Regions from separate parts of the Homo sapiens genome. Here all the other regions are linked to region 2. Evidence: promoter capture Hi-C in 16 types of primary human blood cells and fetal thymus (Javierre and others, 2016). All regions are on one chromosome and are shown on one strand. Each heading gives the region's core, a stretch centred on a gene start or on the middle of the fragment in contact. The rest is flanking DNA. Distances are from core to core; before and after follow the strand shown. Region 1 overlaps CWH43 (cell wall biogenesis 43 C-terminal homolog). Region 2 holds the start of SLC10A4 (solute carrier family 10 member 4). Region 3 holds the start of NFXL1 (nuclear transcription factor, X-box binding like 1).

Evidence for each region. The method cuts DNA at HindIII sites, captures the fragments that hold promoters and counts their contacts. A CHiCAGO score of 5 or more calls a contact.
Region 1: a fragment that was not itself captured here is called in contact with the fragment with the promoter of SLC10A4 in region 2 in 2 of 17 cell types (endothelial precursors and non-activated CD4 T cells); the score reaches 6.2 in endothelial precursors.
Region 3: a contact is called between the fragment with the promoter of NFXL1 here and the fragment with the promoter of SLC10A4 in region 2, in 4 of 17 cell types (erythroblasts, activated CD4 T cells, fetal thymus and 1 more). The highest score is 10.9, in erythroblasts.

What each region holds. Positions count from the first base shown.
Region 1 is chr4:48,994,097-48,996,860 of GRCh38, forward strand. It overlaps CWH43 (cell wall biogenesis 43 C-terminal homolog), which reads left to right. Exons shown (of 16, transcript NM_025087.3): 5 at 523-724. Among named protein-coding and RNA genes, the nearest start is that of CWH43, 9.2 kb to the left of the region's middle. The HindIII fragment of the contact is 2,096 bases long and covers 414-2,509 here.
Region 2 is chr4:48,481,873-48,484,644 of GRCh38, forward strand. It overlaps SLC10A4 (solute carrier family 10 member 4), which reads left to right and starts at 1,471. Exons shown (of 3, transcript NM_152679.4): 1 at 1,471-2,279. The coding sequence starts at 1,690. RefSeq lists a cis regulatory region at 1-136 and silencers at 1,391-1,440, 1,521-1,650. The HindIII fragment of the contact is 5,112 bases long and covers 744-2,772 here.
Region 3 is chr4:47,912,955-47,915,863 of GRCh38, forward strand. NFXL1 (nuclear transcription factor, X-box binding like 1) reads right to left here and starts at 1,629. Exons shown (of 23, transcript NM_001278624.2): 1 at 1,411-1,629; 2 at 1,015-1,251. The coding sequence starts at 1,249. It overlaps LOC101927157 (a long non-coding RNA gene), which reads left to right and starts at 1,273. Exons shown (of 3, transcript NR_125879.1): 1 at 1,273-1,750. RefSeq lists enhancers at 497-1,183, 1,184-1,869, 1,380-1,609. The HindIII fragment of the contact is 5,032 bases long and covers 1,241-2,909 here.

The sequences.
Region 1 (2,764 bases), core at 212-2,711, 510 kb after region 2:
AGCCTACCTCATAAAGTTGTGAAAGTTAAATGAGTTAATATAAAGTTAATATACAGGGCTTGGAAGAGGGGTTGGTGCACAGTGGCTGCCCAGTCAATGCACTAATATTACTCTGCACCCACAGAGGGTTAGATGAGAGCCCTGTTCTTTGGGAGGAAGCAGCTTGTGTACTGGAAATGTTCCACTCAATTTGTACAACATTTGTTCACAAACACAAACACTTTTTCTGCAATGCGTTAGCTTCACATGAAGCAAATAATTTTCTGCATTTTCACCTGTTGAATTCCAAAATGCCTTTTCTCCCTTAAACCATTCCTTATCTGGCCTGCATGGAATTATGTCTCCCACTAAATAGCTGTCAGCATGTTTAGCTTCATATTGTAGTTGCATGTCTCATCTCCTCTTCCGAAGTAAGCTTCTTGAAGCCAAATACCATTTCTTCCTTGCTAAAAGTCTGCTAAATATAGAGCGCAAATTTCCATATAACTAAACTTTTTCCATATATGTATTTTTAAATTCTAGATGGTGACTGCAGTAAACCTGAAGAAAAGAAGACTGGTGAGGTAGCCACGGGGATGGCCTCTAGACCCAACTGGCTGCTGGCAGGGGCTGCTTTTGGTAGCCTTGTGTTCCTCACCCACTGGGTTTTTGGAGAAGTCTCTCTTGTTTCCAGATGGGCAGTGAGTGGGCATCCACATCCAGGGCCAGATCCTAACCCATTTGGGTGAGTTTGGGTTTGGAAGCAATCACAAAATCGGCAGTTATGCCTGGAGGAAGCAATGCCTCCTTTGTCAGACAGCTAGGTCTGTGCTAGCCAGATATTTCATACCACTCTCCCTAGATATCAGAATGTGGCATGAAATTATTGTGTGCTCTGGAGAGAAGGGCACTAGAAGGGTCTTTTCCTCTGTGCAGAAGGATTGCTGAAAAGTAGATGTGGGAGGCCCAATGGTTGTGCACAGCTAAGTAAGAGGTTCCCAGAGCTCCAGCATAGGCATCTCGAGGAATGCCTGCACAGAAGAGCATTCTCAGTGGTGGGAGAGGAGCAGCATTCCCTGGCCATTTCCTCCAGACCCTCTGGTTATGGTTATGGGCATTTAGTAGGATAAGACCACAGTCCCCTGAGGAGACTAGGTTGGCTGCCTGGGGCACAGATCTCTATTCTCAGCAAAGGAGGGCAGCCCCAGGAGATCCCTGCATCTTCTGGTACTTTCTTGTTCCAGCTGTGGGACAGGGTCACACAGGGAGTTAGTAGTCTGGAGTCAAGTGTTGGTCCTTGTGTTTGGTCCTTTTTAACTCTCTCTCTGCTCTTCCTGACACATCTTTTCTCTTGTAACTGGCTCCATCTCTTCTTGCAAAAAAATTGGAGGAATTCTTAAAAGATCTGCCTCCGATATCTTTTCTCTCTTGTAGTGCTGAATTCTTACAATTGAAGGCATGCAGCTGCCTACTGGATCTTTCCCCAGCAGGGATCTGGGCATATCCCACAGGCTTGTCAACCTCAGCTTGTCCAAATCTGAACTCAGTATTTCCCAGTCCTCCACGCATGTTCTTCTTCCCCCATTCCCAGGTCCATTTTGTCTGTCCACCTCATCATCCAAACCTGAGACCAAGAGTTTGCCCAGAATTCTCCATCTTCCTCATTTTCTCCAACTCAGTTCTATGACTTCTCTTAGATTAACCCCTTCTTCTCTATCCCTAAGTTCATCTGCCTTAGTGGAGTCCTCACCATTTTTTCATTCAGGCTATTACTGTTGTCTCCTAATTGTCTCTCTTTAGCAGAATCTTCTCCACATGGTTCCAGAATGATCTCTGTAAAATGCAAATCTGATTCCACCACTCCTTTACTGATAACCTCTCAGCAGTTCCCCCCCACCAATACCTGGTGGCCCCCAATTCTCCCATATGAGGCAGGATCTGGCCCCCCTACTTACCTTTCCAAATGCTTTCTGATCTTATCCTCCTGCTTCACCTGAGTCGAACCCACTTGCGCTTCTCTGGAAGTGCCAGACTGTTCCTGTCCCCCCTCTGCCTGGGCTTGCTTTTCTGCCTTGATGTCCTGGCAAGCCCTACTCCCTTCAAAACCCAGCACAAACATTTTCTCTGTGAATTATTCTGTTATTATCACAGGGGATCCTCCTTTATGCCACATACTATAATACTTTGAGTCAATCAATTTTTATATATGTGTTATATATGTGTACACACACACACACACACACACACACACACACATATATATATGTATCTGTTAGAAACTTTATATTCTGTATTACAGATTTTAAAAAATGTTTTTCTTCCTGTCTAGACACTAAGTCCCTTGAGGGCAGGGAATGGGAAAAGGAATGAATGTTGATTACTTACTCTGTGTCAGGTCCTGAACAAGGACTTTTGAAAATATTATTTCATTTAGAGTCTGTATCTTCTTCCATATCTGGGAGGAAGGCAGAGAAGAAAGAAAGGAACAAAAGGCCAGAGAGGAAGGAAGAAGTTTATTCCTATGTGTTAAAGCTTAGTTTCCAAAGTTACCTGTGAAAACAAGCATAAGTTTTGTGGCAGAGTAAAGGAAGAACTTTAATGGTAAATGGTGAGTCCTGGTAACCAGGAGAAACTCACCATTCAACTCTGGGCCAATCATATTACATCCCTGGCCTTGCTTTACTCACAAGAAGAATGTAACTAAACTTCAGGGGGAAACTTTCTCACATATATAAAATCAGCATTTGCTTTTCAGACATTTCCTAATCCTGTATGTTAGAATGAG
Region 2 (2,772 bases), core at 221-2,720:
GTTGGGTAGCATGGATCATTGTATATCTGAATATCTTTCTTTTTACCTACATAAGGTGACATGTCAACTTAAAATATTTTTGGTCACAACCCACTTCCTTTAAAGTTTAGCTCACTGAAGTTTTTTTTTCTGGGTTTAGTGTTTTGGAAAAGTGTAAGGGTACATTATCCTCCTAGATTCTTGCAAAAGCTCTGCCCTCGTGGAATTTACAGTCCAAAAGAGAAAAAATAAATTATTTGTGATGAAGAGTGCAATATGCTTTGCATTTGCAAAGTCTTACTTTTCATAGTCTCCATCATCTTCATGAGATTTGGGGAGGAGGAAAGGCTCAGCCCACCCTTGGGTAATAGAAGTCACTCTGTGCCAGGACAGGAGTTAGGGAAAAGTTCCCAGATAGAAGAATTCACTATATCTTGGCTCCTTGTGAAAGCAACCCTGGGCTAAGACTGAGCCTTGATTTCATTCTAGAAATTCCTGTTGGTTTTTACAACTCAACTGACTATCACTTTATGGTCACCCCCAGGGAGCTAGATGCCTCCTTAACAGGCCCCACCTGGTTGGTAAGCAGCGAAATTATTTTCCTTTCTACATGCCATCTAGTGACTGACTTAAAAGTTGTTGCATCTCCATTCCTAAGAGCTCTGCTTTTGAATTGTTTTGGGATAAACCTGTCTCAAGCAGGGAATCTCAGCACTTTATTTCTTTTCAGTCCTTTAATCCTAATGCCAGGGCCTTACTCATAAAGCTTCGTAAATCTGTGGCCACTGAAATATCCTCTCTCCACCTGCCAATAACTTCTTAAACACACATTTTTCATGGAAATTGTTATTAGCCAAGCTCTTCTCTGCCCTCTTTAGGGACACATCGCCGTGCAGATTCAGCCAGGTACTTGTGGGTTCGGTTGATAAGACTGAGAATTCCTCGTTCCTCAGTTTCCTCGTTTGTAAAAATCGAGCTTGTAAAAATGGTATCTATCTCACGGCTTTGCTGTAAGAATCGAATGAAATAATGCACACGCACTTGCACAAAACCCGCTATATTATTATTACATTCTACTTTAAGACTGAAAATCATGCAAAAAATTGTTTGCAAATTCAAGCCAGATATCGTGTCCTGCTTACTAGAGAATCGCTCATATTAAGTCAAGCACCCCTCTTAGGGCTGCAGGCTATAGGAACAGTTTCTGCCATGAGCGTGCATCGATGAGGTTATCCACCCGCCCCCTCCACTTTGTGTGTCTGGGTCTCCAGATTTCATTATAAAGAGGCAGAGCCCATCAGAGAACTTGATCGGCAGCCAGGAACGGTTTTTTCCTGCTCTGGTCCTTTGTCAGGTCTTTGTTCCGCCCCTGGCTACACTCGATAACAGAACCACTTACTGGCGATTCACAGGAGGGGACCGGGCGGCAGGGCGGGGCGGGGCCTGCGGGGCGCGGGGCCGCGGCGCGGAGCCGGCGCAGCGATTGGGTTCACCCGGGGGGCCGCGCTGCGCGGAGTGCCAGGCTGCGGGCGGCTGCAGACCTGGGAGCGGAGACCGGCCCGCCGCCCCCGACGCCGCCGAGCACGTCAGCGGCGCGCAGCCGGGGCTCGGAGACCGACGGGCAGAACGACGGGCGGCGACTGCGGCGACCGCGGGACGGCGAGAGGCACGCGGCGGGAGGGGACCGGAATCCGCAGCTCCGGCCGCGCCATGGACGGCAACGACAACGTGACCCTGCTCTTCGCCCCTCTGCTGCGGGACAACTACACCCTGGCGCCCAATGCCAGCAGCCTGGGCCCCGGCACGGACCTCGCCCTCGCCCCTGCCTCCAGCGCCGGCCCCGGCCCTGGGCTCAGCCTCGGGCCGGGTCCGAGCTTCGGCTTCAGCCCCGGCCCCACTCCGACCCCGGAGCCCACGACCAGCGGCCTCGCGGGCGGCGCGGCGAGCCACGGCCCTTCCCCGTTCCCTCGGCCCTGGGCGCCCCACGCGCTCCCGTTCTGGGACACGCCGCTGAACCACGGGCTGAACGTGTTCGTGGGCGCCGCCCTGTGCATCACCATGCTGGGCCTGGGCTGCACGGTGGACGTGAACCACTTCGGGGCGCACGTCCGTCGGCCCGTGGGCGCGCTGCTGGCAGCGCTCTGCCAGTTCGGCCTCCTGCCGCTGCTGGCCTTCCTGCTGGCCCTCGCCTTCAAGCTGGACGAGGTGGCCGCCGTGGCGGTGCTCCTGTGTGGCTGCTGTCCCGGCGGCAATCTCTCCAATCTTATGTCCCTGCTGGTTGACGGCGACATGAACCTCAGGTACGGATCTGTCTATTCCTTGGGCATCTGTCTCATCCCAGACGCGCGTTTACGGCCGTGGGCTCACGACGAAGGACAGAGGCAGTGGAGGGGTTGGAATTAGGCGTGGAGGAAGGAGGAGAAAAGGAGAGGAAGTTGATGACGCCCCGGCTTTAGAAGTCAAGGCCGACCTGCAGGTTGTGCTGCTAGGGGAGCAAGCTAGACGGCGAGGGAGCTGCTCCAAGGCTGGGATTCCATGCGCAGCGCGGCCCTTCAGCAGGGTCCCTCGCCGTCCTCCCCGAGCGTCGGGGTGGCAGCGCAGGTCGTTGTCCAGTGGAAGACAAAGAGAAGGGGGAGTCTGAACTAGAACTCGCCGGCAACGTAAAAGTAAAATAGGGCTACTGGCCCGTCAGAGAAAGTAATCTCACATAGAGTGCAGGATTGTTGAGTCCGACCAACAAGTAGCAGTCAGCAGCTTTACCATGGCTTACCTTGCAGGGGGCTTGCAAGGAAG
Region 3 (2,909 bases), core at 379-2,878, 570 kb before region 2:
GTGAGCCGAGATTGCGCCACTGCACTCCAGCCTGGGCGACCAGCGAGACTCTGTCTCAAAAAAAAAAAAAAAAAAAAAAAGTTTACCAAACCTGTTCACACGTCTCCATATTGTATACCTTATCATCACGGCCATTAACTGCATGCTAAGAGAATACCACCTACCTTTCAAATTAGCCTAGGAGAAAAATCATTCAAGATACTCAATTCTGCTCCACACCCCCCAAAAAAATGTATCCTGAAATGCATTCCAAACACAAAAATAAAATGATTTCAGGGATTATTCCCTCGGCCCCATGCACAATTGTGTGTAAGTCCTCCCTGGCTCCACGAAAACATGGTCTTGGATGAAAAGTATTGATATATCGGAGGCAACACCAGATATGTCCACAGAAGGACATGGAATTTGTAAATAGGAACTACAGTCAAGGAAGGTATCAAAAGCTCAAGTGCTTACAAGGAATAAGACAAGTCAAGAAACAAAGGCAAAGGTAAAGATGACAAATGACACCTGGCTCCAGAAATGAGAGAGAATGTGAGATGGAATGCCCAAGTCCAATCTAAATGGGATTTCTGTGACTCAGCCGAGCTGACTGTTGCCATGCACAAAGATAACTAAAGCCACAAGGTTGTTAACCAGATTTTTAAAAACGACAAACAACCGCTGACAATCAATCCACATTTAAAACTCTGTGTTAACCAAACAACATTATAGACCAAATCAGAACACCGGGCCACAATTTACAACTGATGGTCTGGAGATTCAAGTAGGCAAGAGTGGAGGGAAGTAACAAAGGTAATACCACCTAAAATTAAGATGAAAGAGGTGCGATGGAAATCTACCTAGAGTGCCGAAAAGAGCAGCCACCCGAAAGGCTGGAGAAGTGGGCCCGATAACAAACTCCCGAACGAGGGGAAAAGCAGTGAAAGAAAGAAGGCGAGGGCGGAGGCGGTCCTGACTAGTAACTGCCTTAGGAGGCATCCAGGTGAGCACGCGGGCGGGAGCCATTCTCACCGCTGGCTGCGGTAGTCTGCAGGGCTTGGGATCCTGCGGGGCTGTGCCTGCTCCCTGCAGCCGCCGTGGTCGCGACTCCTCCGGGACTGGTGCCAGAAGGAACTGCGCCCACCGACCCCTTCTCTCGCCCTCCTCCGGCGCCGCGGAGATGGACTCCATTTCCTGAGGGGGCGGCAGTGGCCCGTCCCCGGGATCGGCCTCGGCCACCGGCCACCTGGCGCCAGGAAGCTTCCATCCCTGCAAAGGAGAAAAAAAAAAAAAAGAGTGGAAGGAGGTGAGCGCAGCGAGGACCGAGGCGAAGGAGGGTCAGTGCGGAAACCCGGTGTGAGGGGCCGAGTGAGGAAGGTTCCTGCAGGGCGGCGACCGGGTTTTAGGAGGTCGCGGCCCTGCCTTTACCGGAGGGCGAGTCCCCGCCAAGCCCGGGCTTTGGAGATGGACCGAAGAGGGGAGGGAGGACTAGGTACAGAAATAAACCGCGGAGCAAGAAGCACACAGTGCCGAAGACAGAAAGCCGGAGGAGAAGTCGAAACCGCCTCCTCAGCCTCTGCGGGAGCGTGGTAGGGGAAGAGTCACAGACTGACCCTGCGTCTCCCGCCGGGAACCAACTGCAGTGGTACACCCCACGGAAAGCTACGTCTCCTTACCGACTGCGCACGCCCCCAACAGACTACAACTCCCAGAAGCCCCCGCCCGCGTTCCGGCGACTGCGTGGCAGCACGGGCCGCTTCCTTATCCGGTAAAGTGCGGGGGTTGGGTGGGAGGGAAACCCCAAGCGCCTGCGCTGGCCCGAACAGGCCTTTGGGAACTACAACTCCCGGCGTGCTCTGGGGCTAGGGAGGGGTCGAAGGTCATAGGGGCGCGTGGTGGTGGAGGCGGGCGGGTCCGGAGGGTTTCGTGACCCCACAATTTGCTTCTGCTTCTGCAAGACTGCCCTAAACTCACCTGGGTATGAGGATTACATGGCTCTGTCCCTAATTGGCTCTCTGCCATCTTTTATTAGCCTTGCCTTTGAGCTTGCGGATGACAGGAGGTGTCAATGTAAAATAATCAAAAGCGCGAAGTTTGAGGATAGCCTACCTAGAAACACCGACTCCAAGGAAGGAGTCAGCGTTCCGAAGTAGAGATTTAAGATTTCACTTATATAGGCAGAAACTGAGAGGTTTTTTAGCAGGATTACAGCATTTTCTCATACAAGGTTAGAGAATAGTTACAACAATTTGATTATAGACAGTGTTTCTTTTTGGGAAGTGTACATTTAACATTTTTCATAAAGGATTTTCTGTCATCTGGTCTAAGCAAACCGGGGCAACAAAGCAGAAGTTAATCTATAAGGATCATTAAGAAGGCAGGAAGTTTTTGTCCTTAACTTCGTTTAATTCTCTCTAGCCATTGTATAGAACAAGAAAAATAAGAAAGCAAGTTAATCTATAATCTGAGAAACAGAAGTTGTAACCACGTGTAACTCAGATGACAGTCACATCTCTCTCCAGGCTTAGTGAGTTTTAGGCTCCAACAACCTTTAAACTATTTATTTTCATAGGGAAGTCTCACTAACAGGAAAGGCACTTACATTGAAAACGCTTTGAGGTTGGCCACTGTGAAGGAGGGAAATTCGGGGGAGAGTTGCAGGAAAGTGGCTTGAGTAGTAAAAGTACCCTTCTAAAATGCTAGAGCCAATGTAGAAAATAAATCTAAAGCCTGTTATTGTCATAGTCCTTTGTAGTGTGCAATGAGCTTTCCCTGGGACATGCTAATTTTTACCTTCACAGCATCTCCCTAAAGTAGATTTTGTTAAGGAAAATAGTTGAGGGCCAGGACCTAAATCTTATGATTTTGCTGAGTTTTCCAATAAGATACATGTGCATATATACTGACAGGTAGATTGCAAAAATTCA